4 separate regions of the Homo sapiens genome follow, and all the other regions are linked to region 3. The links are contacts of gene promoters, found by promoter capture Hi-C in human tissues and cell types (Jung and others, 2019). All regions are on one chromosome and are shown on one strand. Each heading gives the region's core, a stretch centred on a gene start or on the middle of the fragment in contact. The rest is flanking DNA. Distances are from core to core; before and after follow the strand shown. Region 1 overlaps CDC27 (cell division cycle 27). Region 2 overlaps CDC27 (cell division cycle 27). Region 3 holds the start of EFCAB13 (EF-hand calcium binding domain 13). Region 4 overlaps LOC101927060 (a long non-coding RNA gene).

Region 1 (2,700 bases), core at 143-2,642, 160 kb before region 3:
ACCTAACACACCTTAGCTACAAAACCACATGTATGTATCTAGATTACTAGGTGCAATTCTGGTATATAATGGCTAAAATGAAAAGCCAGGATTGGGGTAGGGTTGTTCCACTTTCAATACTCAATCTTTTAATCTTGATGATGAATAAAAATAACCCTTGGCTGGGTGCTGTGGCTCATGCCTGTAATCCCAGCACTTTGGGAGGCTGAGGTGCCAGGACTGCTTGAGCCCAGGAGCTTAAGACCAGCCTGGGCAACATAGGGAGACCCCATATCTACCAAAACCAAAAAAATATAAAAGAACCCATCCATATTCCTCTGAAGAAGGAGAAAAAAGAACTTCCTTGTTTACATATATGTATACATACACACACATACCTTTCTGAGGAACTGATTTAACTGCATCTTTAAAAAAACTTTAATGATTTTATCTGAATAGTTCAGTGCCACATGACATTCTGTTACAACAGATCACATGTATGACAATAGTCTCATAAGATTATTTGTTTCTTTTGCTTTTTTTGAGATGGAGTTTCACTCTTGCTGCCCAGGCTGGAGTACAATGGCACGATCTCAGCTCACTGCAACCTCTGCCTCCTGGATTCAAGTGATTCTCCTGTTTCAGCCTCCCCAGTAGCTGGATTACAGGCTCGTGTCACCACGCCCAGCTGATTTTTGTATTTTTAGTTGAGGTGGGGTTTCACCGTGTTGGCCAGGCTAGTCTCGAACTCTTGACCTCAGGTGATCTGCCCGCCTCGGCCTCCCAAAATGCTGGGATTATAGGTGTGAGCCACCCTGCCTGGCCCCCATAAGATTATAATGCCATATTTCTACTGTATCTTTTCTTTGTTTAGATACACAAATATTTACCATACTGTTATAACTGCCTACAGTATTCAGTAAGGTAACATGCTGTACAGGTTTGTGGCCCAGGAGCAATAGGTTATACAATATAGCCTAGGTGTGTAGTAGGCTACACCATCTAGGTTTGTGCATATGCACTTTATGATGTTCACAAATGACAAAATCACCTAAGGACACATTTCTCAGAACAAATCCCCATCATAAAGTGACACATGACTGTATAACATATTTGTGATTTTAACTTAATTTTTTTAAACTTTACTTTGGAATAATTTTAGACTTACATAGAACTTGCAAAAACAGTACACAGTTCCCATGTACCCTACACCCAGCTTCCCCCAATAATATCTGACATAACCATAGTACAGTTATCAAAACTAGGAAATTGACATTAGTACAAAACTGTAAACTACGCTGGACACGGTGGCTCATGACTGTAATCCCAGCACTTCGGGAGGCCGAGGCAGGTGGATCATGTGAGGTTGGGAATTTGAGACCAGCCTGGCCAATATGGTGAAACCCCGTCTCTACTAAAAATACAAAAATTAGCTGGGCATGGTGGCGCTCACATGTAATCCCAGCTACTCCGGAGGCTGAGGCACGAGAACTGCTTGAACCTGGGAGGTGGAGACTGCAGTGAGCTGAGATTGTGCAACTGTACTCCAGCCTGAGCGACAGAGCGCAAGATTCCATTTCAAACAACAACAACAACAACAACTGTAAACTAAACCACAGAGCTTATTTGAATTTTAGCAGTTTTTACACGTTTATATAGAGAATATTATCACATTTACAAATTTCTATAACCACTACTACAATCAGGATATAAAACTGTTTTAATATCCCAAAGAAACCCCTAAATAGTTACATCCTCACCCTAACCCAACCTGAGAACCACTGATCTGTTCTCCTTCACTATAATTCTGTCAGATTAATGTTATATAAATGGAATTATAGAAACTTCTGAAATTGGCTTTTTTCACTTGCCATAATAACCTTGTAATCTATCTAAGTTACTATACATATCAATATAGTAGTTTGTTTCTCTTTATTGCTAAGTAGTCCATCATATGGACTAGTTTATCTATTTACTTACTGAATTTTGGGTTGTTTCCAGTTTTGGGCTTTTATGAATAAAGTTGCTATGAACTCCTGTGTAAAATATCACCTTACATTCCCACCAGCAGTGTACGAGGAATCCTGCTGCACTGCATCCTCTCACCAGCACTTGGTATTGTCAGTAGTTTTTATTTTTAGCCATTGTATCTAATGGTGGTTTTTAATCACTTTCCTTAATGGCTAACGATTTAGAACATCTTTTCACCTGCTTATTTACCATCCATATACTCTCTTTGGTGAAATGTCCATTCAATTGTTTTACTTATTTTCTAATTGAACTGATTTTTCTTTTATTACTGAGAGAGTTCTTTATATAGTCTAGATACAATCTGTGTTGTTTATGGGATTTGCAAATATTTTCTCCCAGGCTGTGACTTGTGTGTATTTTCATTAATGTCTTTTGCCAAGCAAAGAGTTTTAATTTTGATAAAATTTATCAACTTTTTATTTTATGTACTGTCATTTGGGTGTTATGTTTAAGAAGTCTTTGCCTAACCCTAGCTCATAAAGATTTTTTTCTAAAAGTTTAATAGTTTTATGTTTTACATTTAGATCCATGATTCATTTGAGTTAAATTTTTAATAAGGTATGGGGTTTAAGTCAATGCTCATTTCTCTGCCTATGGATATCCAATTGCACTGGCACCATTATTTGCTAAAAAGGATATCATTCCTCCATTAAATTGTTTTTCACCTTCTTCAAAAGTCAACTGACCATC
Region 2 (2,700 bases), core at 71-2,570, 190 kb before region 3:
TACAGGCATGAGCCACCACACCTGGCCTACATATATTTTTTTTCTTTTTTGAGACAGTCTTGCTTTTTGTCACCCAGGTTGGAGTGCAGTGGTGCAATCTCAGCTCACTGCAACCTCTGCCTCCTGGGTTCAAGCGATTTTCGTGCCTCAGCCTCCCAAGTAGCTGGGATTACAGGCATGTGTCACCACGCCCAGCTAATTTTCTTGTATTTTTAGTAGAGACGAGGTTTCCCCATGTTGGCCAGGCTGGTCTTGAACTCCTGGCCTTAAGTGATCTGCTTGTCCCAGCCTACCAAAGTGCCGGGATTGCAGGTGTGAGCTACCACCCCCAGCCTTCTTATATTAACATATTTTTAATTTTTTGTGGAGACGAGGTCTCACTATGTTGACCAAGCTGGTTTCAAACTCTTAGCCTCAAACAATCCTCCCACCTTGGCCTCCCAAACGCTAGGATTACAGGCATGAGCCACCATGCCCAGACCATTAAAACATTTTAAAGAGTCACTTTTACAAGCAAAAACAATCAAATCAAATCAAATCAAACTATGATAATAAGGAAAAAAGAAACCACACCCCTAAACCCATATAGATTTTTTTTTTTTTTTTAATTCAACGTCTTGCTCTGTCGCCCGGGCTGGAGTGCAATGGCGTGATCATAGCTCACTGCAGGTAACCTTGAACTCTTAGGCTCACGCAATCCTCCCACCTCAGCCTCCTGAGTAGTTAGGACTACAGGCATACACCACCATGCCTAATTGTTTTTTTTTTGTTTTGTTTTGTTTTGTTTTGTTTTTGAGATGGAGTCTCACTCTGTTGCCATGCTGGAGTGCAGTGGCACAACCTCCACCTCCCAGGTTCAAGTGGTTTTCCTGCCTCAGTCTCCCAAGCAGCTGGGACTACAGGCACGCATCACCACACCCAGCTAATTTTTGTATTTTTAGTAGAGGCGGGGTTTCACCATGTTGGCCAGGATGGTCTTGATCTCTTGACCTCATGATTCGCCCATCTCAGCCTCCCAAAGTGCTGGGATTACAGGCGTGAGCCACCGTGCCCGGCCTTAATTGTTTTCTTTTTTTTTTTTTTTTTTTGTTAGGGAAGGGGTCTTGCTATGTTGACCAGGCTGGTCTCAAACTCCTGGTCTCAAGTAATCTTCCAGCTTCAGCTTCCTAAAGTGCTGGGCTTATAGGTATGAGCCACCATACCTGTCATATTCTAGATTTAACAGCTAATTTTTACTGAGTAGTTATTACATGTGTGCCAAGACCATTGCTAAATTATCTCATTTAATCCCTAGAGGAATCATAGGTACCATTATCATCCTTATTTCGAATAAGGAAACTGAAACTTAGAGAAGTTAAATAACTTGCTTAAAGTTATACAGCTAATAAAGATTCTAACCAGGTTCTTCCTTAATGATTCTAAAGGCTGAACTCCTAACAATGCTATTCCCACATTTCTGTTTTATATTATTATAATTATAGCATACATAGTGTCATGTTTGGCTTCCTTGTCCCCCACTTACTGTTATCAAAAGCATGCTCCTATACTTATAGACCTCAAAATTACAATTTCTAAAGGCTATGTAATAGTGTATTAGGTTAATATGCAGGTATTTCTCCTGAATTTTCAAAATGTCAAATGAATATAGTGTGGATGGTTTATATTACGGAGACTTCTCATGGCCATAACTAGATGATGATGATGATGATGATGATGATGATGATGATGATGATGGGGAATAAGCATCAAATGAATAAGAAAAAAGCACAACATATCTGCTTTATTTGAGTGGCTTTATATATCATTATACTTGTGTTATAGATGAAGAAAAGGTATTAAACACTATGCTAATGATAGTGAAAGTGAAAACAAAAGAAAGGCTATCTATTTTGTACTTAGAATAAAGTTGCTCAGTATTTAGTTACCTAAATACGTCAGCATTTAAACTCCTCCTAGTAAAAGCTTGCCAATCTGAATAATCCTCCTTTAAACACAATTTTTGATATGGTTAAGTTTTTTAAGAATGCAACTCCTGCAAAATAGCTGAACAGACAATACACATTTAAAAAAAAAACAACACAAGGATCAACCAGACTTGGGAAAAAATCAAAAACAACACAAGTCTTATTAAGAACTGAGTTCCTGGCCGGGTATGGTGGCTCATGCCTGTAATCCCAGCACTGGGAGGCCAAAGTGGGTGGATCATGAGGTCAGGAGATTGAGACCATCCTGGCTAACATGGTGAAATCCCGTCTCTACTAAAAATACAAAAAAAATTAGCCGGGCATGGTGGCAGGCACCTGTAGTCCCAGCTACTCGGGAGGCTGAGGCAGGAGAATGGCGTGAACCTGGGAGGCGGAGCATACAGTGAGCCAAGATGGCGCCACTGCACTCCAACCTGGGTGACAGAGCGAGACTCTGCCTCAAAAAACAAACAAACAAACAAAAAAAAAACTGAGTTCTTAAAATATTACAGAGAACATAGCTATCGGAAGAGACAGCAGCATTGGCAAGTTGATTGTTACATTGGTCAGCAAAAGCTAGCACTATTTTTTTGGCCATCTTTCAGGCAATGTAACTACTACTGCAAAATGAGACATAATCCATTAACAACATATTCACAAATCAAAAAATGTTTTAGTAATATAATGCTTCAGATTTAGAAGCAAATAGAATGATACAACTCAACTGCTATAATAA
Region 3 (2,700 bases), core at 50-2,549:
TTGTGACAACATGAATCAACTTGGAGGACATACTAAGTGAAAAAAGCCAGGCACAGAAAGACACATACCACATGATCTCACTTATATGTGGAATCTTAAAAAGTCAAACTCATAGAAGTAGACAGTAGAATAGTTGTTAGAGGCTGGAAAGGGACGGGGCGGGTAGGAGATGCAGGATGGGGAGATGCTGTTCAAAGGGTACAAGGTTCAGTCAGACAAAAGCAGCAAGTTTCTGAGATCTATTGCATAGTGTGGTGACTATAGCTAATAATAATATATCGTATATCTCAAAACTGCTAAGAGTAAATTTCAAATGTCTCACCATAAAAAACGTTAAACAAGGTGATGGATATGTTAAGCTTGACTTAGTCGTTCCATATTGTATACATATATTAAAATATAACATTGTACCCCATTAAATATTTACAATTATGATTTGTACATATATTTAATAATAATAAAAATCTAAATAAAATATTAAAGAATGCCTACAAAGCAAGGTTTAAGATGTAAATGAACACAGTAGTATCACGGAAGGGATTAAATATTGTAACATTTATTGAGCACTACGTATATATTTTTGAATTCCCACAACCCTGGAAGAATGAGAAAATCGAGACTCAGGGAGCGTTAAGTATTTTGCCCAACTGCATACGATAAATACATAGGAAAAACAAACACACAGAAGAAAACCAAACCAACCAAAGTATCTCTTTCAAAAGGAAACGACAGTCTCCTTAAAGGCAACCCGAGACAAATTTCAGCAAAGCCGTGGGACACATGGCCTTCGAGCTGCTGTCCATTATTGAGTAGCAGAAGCCAAGAAGGATGGAATGTTTTGGAAGAAAGGGGTCGGGGGTCGGGGTGTTCAAAGGACGGACCGAAGGTAAGATTGAAGTGGGGTCAGACCATGGCGGGACAGCGCACCGGAGAATGAACAGCGATTAGGGAAGAGTGGCGAGCGGGTGGCAAGGACGGAGGGCGGAATCCCGGCCGGGGCTGCGGGAGGAAAGCGCACGGACAGGAGCCCCACCGCTCGAATGCAGCGCCCGGCGGCTGGCCTCGTGAGGTCACAGGCCCTTACGAGGTGGGGCAGGCAGGCGCGGCCGCAGTGCCTTCCAGTCAGCGCGGAGGCGGTATTGAGTTCAGCCGCTCCCCACAGCCCCGGAGCCCCTGGGCGGTGGCGGTGGCCGCGGCAGCACCGGCTCGACAGCCGATAGGGTCCTGGGCCCGCTCCGCTCGGGGTGGTCGGTGGGCGGAGCGTCGGGCTCGGTCAGGTGACCGCGGGGGCGGGGCCGCGCGGCGCGGGATCCTGGGAAGGCTGCAGAGCTAGAGCAGCGCCGCCCGAGGGGCGGCAGGGGCTGACCACAGAGAGCGCGGGGGCCTCCAGCCGAGAGGAAGGGAGGGCAGCTCGGGCCGGTAGTGGGACCCTTGGGGGACAGAGGTGGGGAGGGGAGGCGAGACCCGCTGAGGAGTTGGGAGGGGAGCCTTCGAGGTGGAGGGTGGAGAATGCAGTAGGGTGCGAGGGAGGAAGGAGAACAGTGGTGGGGCTGGGTGAAGGAAGGTTCCAGAAAGGAACAGTGAGGGGACTGAGTGGGACAAAGGGGCAGATTGAAGGGTGACTGAGACTGATCAGGTGGTTCCTCAGAAATGGTGGTTGTTGTAGAAGGCTGGCGGTCCCGGGGGTGGTGTCACTTCCCTGCTCCTTCAGCGGGAGGCGGAGACCTCTATTAGCACACTCATTTCCATCTTGCGGGTCGTTCACTCGCTAGCTTACAGGTCCTCTTTCTTCCTGTAGAAGTCGTTGGCTTCGTAAGAGCAGGGTCTATGGGAAGCCTCCTCAGCGTGGGTTCTTGGAAGAGGTGGAGGTTCGTTCACTCGACGTTTGTTACACAAATATGAAAACAGGGTGACGAAAGTTTGAACGTTCATGAATGGCAGTAGCTGCAATGGAGTTGTGTATGCAGTTGGTATTAATGACGTTTTCAGTCCCTCTGGCGAGAGAAAAGCGAGCGAGTCGGGCGGCTTGTGAGGGAAATGTGGCATGAGAGGAAAGAGGAAGGTATTTTGTGAAAGGATGTCATACAGAGTCATGCTTCAGTGAAGACGCCTTTGTTTTTCTCATCTTAAAGCCTCACAGCCCCATTTTCCTCTCAGCTACTGCCTTATTTCTCTTAACAACGTAACTCCTTGAAAGAGCCTACCCTACTGGCTGGGTTCAATTTCTTTACCCCGTTCTCTCTTGTACTCACTCTGACGACATTGTCTCCTTACCACCCCACCCAGATGGCTCCTTTCAAGTTTGTCAGTGTCCTCCGTGTTGTGAAACCTAGCGAACCATTCAGTACTGATCTTAACCGCCCACCCCACCCCCCTTTTTTTTTTTTGAGACAAGGTCTCTGTCGTCCAGGCTGGAGTGCAGTGGTGCAATCATAGCCCACTGCAGCTTCAAACTCCTGGGCTCAAAAGATCCTCCTGGCTCAGTCTTTGGAGTAGCTGGGACTAAGGTCGCCATGTCCAGCTGATTAAAAAAAAAATTCTGTAGAGGTGGGAGTTTCACTGTTGCCCAGGCTGGTCTTGAACTCCTGGCCTTAAGCAGCCCTCCTGCTTAGACCCCCACCCCCGCATCAAAGTGTTGGGATTACCTGCATAAGCCACCATGCACAGCCTGATTGCTCACTCTTGAAGTACTTTCTTCAC
Region 4 (2,700 bases), core at 26-2,525, 240 kb before region 3:
TAGGCTATACCATGTTCTCTAAGTGTATAGTAGGCCATACCACCTCAGCTTATATGTATGTAAATATGTATGTATTTGAGACAGTCTCGCTCTGCCCTTGCCCAGGCTGGAGTACAGTGTCACGATCTTGGCTGACTGCAGCCTCCATCTCCCGGGTTCAAGTGATTCTCCTGTCTCAGCCTACCAAGTAGGTGGGGTTATAGGCACTCGCCACCACACCTGGCTAATTTTTTTTTGTATTTTTAGTAGAGATGGGGTTTCACCATGTTGGCCAGGCTAGTCTCGAACTCCTGGCCTCAGGTGATTCACCCACCTTGCCCTCCCATGCCTCGGCCTCCCAAAGTGCTGAGATTATAGGCGTGTGCCACCACGCCCAACCCTCAGCTTGTATTTAAGTACACTCTATGACATTCACACACCAATGAAATCACCTAACAACACATTTATCGGTTTCCCTTTCGTTAAGCAATGTGTGACGGTATACACAAAACTCCAGATTATTTTCCAGATATTTAGAAATACTTTTCAGATATTTTGAAAGTTTCTGAAAACTGCTCTGTCATTACTTCTGAGTGATGAGCTGAAGAATAAAGCATGAACCAAATGAGGTATCTTCTTATACACAGCTAGTGAGACTATAAACTGACACGACCAAAATACTTCTCTAAAGTATGCATTAAGAACATAAAAGAGCATTCATACCTTTGACTAAGATAAAGATGTTTATCATGGCATACTTAATTTTAATAATAAACGTAACTTAAATAGTCAACGAGGAAAGCCAATAGCAGGCAGCCATTAAAAATGTTTTCCAAAAACCAACTGGGAAATATTCAGGGCACATATATAACATGACTGTGTTTAAACAAATTATTCATGTGCTAGGAAAATGTACCATAATGTGGGTAGCGAGATAATTTTGAGCTGTTGGTTTTGTTTTGTTTTGTTTTGGGGGGGCGGGGGGAGGGTGTGTCTTTTATACTTCTGTGTAATTTCAAAGTTTCCTGAGAATTGATACACAGTATTTCTTCAGTTCTAAGAGGTACTTTCCCCACGTCAACAACTTTTAAAACAAGATGCATCTTACAATTGCTGTTATGCCCTAGTTTAATGGAAATAATTTCTTTGTTGTACTTAAAATAATGGTACATCTTACAATCAATAGCATCTTAAGTTCTATGAAGTGTGGCAGTTTTATAACAGGCAACTAAAATAACATAACATATACACATATATAAACTTACATATATATATTTATGAATGTATATAAAAAGATGAAGCAACACTTATGACTACTATTGTACTAATCTCAGTTGTTACTAAGAGACTCTAGTTCTCAAATATAGAAATTCCCACTTAACTACTGGCTATAAAAACCTAGAAACAGACACCGAAGAGGTGTCTCTGATAGAGAAAGACTGTGTTTTTCTCCTCAGTACAGGCATATCCAGTCACCTCCTAGTTATTCTTAGTCACCAATCCAGTTCAAGTTCTACAAATCTCACTTTAAAATTTCCTTTGTGAAGAGTTGAGAAAGCAAAATATTGACCAAATCTAGAATGTTTATTAGTTTTGTTCTAGCTAATTTTTAAATAAGTAAATCAGGATTTAGCTAATTTTTAAATAAGTAAATCAGGATTTAATTTTTACACTACCCTAAGGGAATAAATTAATAATAAAAACTGTGTCCTCAATTAAAGTAGCTCTATCAAATGTTTGGAAAATATATATATATATATATATATATATATATATATATATATATATATATATATATATATGTATCTCCAATCTGGAAAGAAGGTAGAAGTCTCCAGTGAAATTTTTGGAATAAAAGTTTAAATGATTAGACAGCCCACAGAACTTTCACTTCAAACCCTGATCATTCTGTTCATTTTATCAGTTGATCAACCGTTAACTTTTGGCCTACTAATTTAACGGATACTGTTCACAGGAAAGCCATTTTCTTAAGGCTTTGACTAGTACTAAGGTCAAAAAGGCATTTTGACCCTTATTTTTAGTAGCCACAGACTTTTTCTAGACATGGGTCTAGATAAAGATAGAGCTCAGCCATACCAAGCTAATATAAAAAATACTTTGCAAGAATGTAAGCTTCATGAAGGTAGGATTTTTGTTCACTATTGTGACCCTACTATGGAGAACGCTGCTGAGACATAGTAGGCACTTTTCCATAAATCTAACAAATATGACAGTTACATCAATGGCTTGCTTGCATTATACAGCATTTTTCTTGTTTCCTGTTAACTCAGATACCCACACTGTTTTGTTCTAAATACACGTTCAATTAACCATTATATTCTAATAGTGTTTTCCTTTTAATGAGACAAGGTCTTAGTTGCCCAGGCTGGAGTGTGGTGGCACAATCTTGGCTCACTGCAACCTCCACTTCATGGGCTCAAGTGATCCTCCCACTTCAGCCTCCTCAGTAGCTGGGACTACAGGCACGTGCCATCATGCTCAGCTAATTTTTGTATTTTTTGTAAACACAAGGTCTCACTATGTTGCCCAGGCTGGTCTCGAACTCCTGAGCTCAAATGATCCTCCTGCCTTGGCCTCCCAAAGTGCTGGGATTACCAGAGTGAGCCACCACGTGTGATCCCATCAGGTTCTTAAACAAATTAAACCACTATATCAGGTCATTAAACCACTTGTCTTGAAATAGTTAAAAAGGGGGTTATG

Evidence for each region. The method cuts DNA at HindIII sites, captures the fragments that hold promoters and counts their contacts. A contact is called where the count stands out against the background at its distance.
Region 1: a fragment that was not itself captured here is called in contact with the fragment with the promoter of EFCAB13 in region 3 in 3 of the 25 tissues and cell types used here (heart left ventricle, mesenchymal stem cells and mesendoderm cells).
Region 2: a contact is called between a fragment that was not itself captured here and the fragment with the promoter of EFCAB13 in region 3, in 1 of the 25 tissues and cell types used here (mesenchymal stem cells).
Region 4: a fragment that was not itself captured here is called in contact with the fragment with the promoter of EFCAB13 in region 3 in 1 of the 25 tissues and cell types used here (dorsolateral prefrontal cortex).

What each region holds. Positions count from the first base shown.
Region 1 is chr17:47,163,260-47,165,959 of GRCh38, forward strand. All of the region lies in intron 4 of CDC27 (cell division cycle 27), which reads right to left. Among named protein-coding and RNA genes, the nearest start is that of CDC27, 25 kb to the right of the region's middle. The HindIII fragment of the contact is 5,468 bases long and covers 1-2,700 here.
Region 2 is chr17:47,133,717-47,136,416 of GRCh38, forward strand. All of the region lies in intron 14 of CDC27 (cell division cycle 27), which reads right to left. It also overlaps the pseudogene LOC112268192. Among named protein-coding and RNA genes, the nearest start is that of CDC27, 54 kb to the right of the region's middle. RefSeq lists an enhancer at 2,214-2,700. The HindIII fragment of the contact is 3,309 bases long and covers 1-2,700 here.
Region 3 is chr17:47,322,656-47,325,355 of GRCh38, forward strand. EFCAB13 (EF-hand calcium binding domain 13) reads left to right here and starts at 1,300. Exons shown (of 25, transcript NM_152347.5): 1 at 1,300-1,419; 2 at 1,799-1,868. It overlaps EFCAB13-DT (EFCAB13 divergent transcript), which reads right to left and starts at 1,246. Exons shown (of 3, transcript NR_110880.1): 1 at 1,034-1,246. RefSeq lists a silencer at 1,029-1,438 and enhancers at 1,779-1,868, 1,909-2,088. The HindIII fragment of the contact is 8,264 bases long and covers 1-2,700 here.
Region 4 is chr17:47,078,001-47,080,700 of GRCh38, forward strand. The region is part of intron 1 of LOC101927060 (a long non-coding RNA gene); the gene reads right to left. Among named protein-coding and RNA genes, the nearest start is that of RPRML, 100 kb to the left of the region's middle. The HindIII fragment of the contact is 6,830 bases long and covers 1-2,700 here.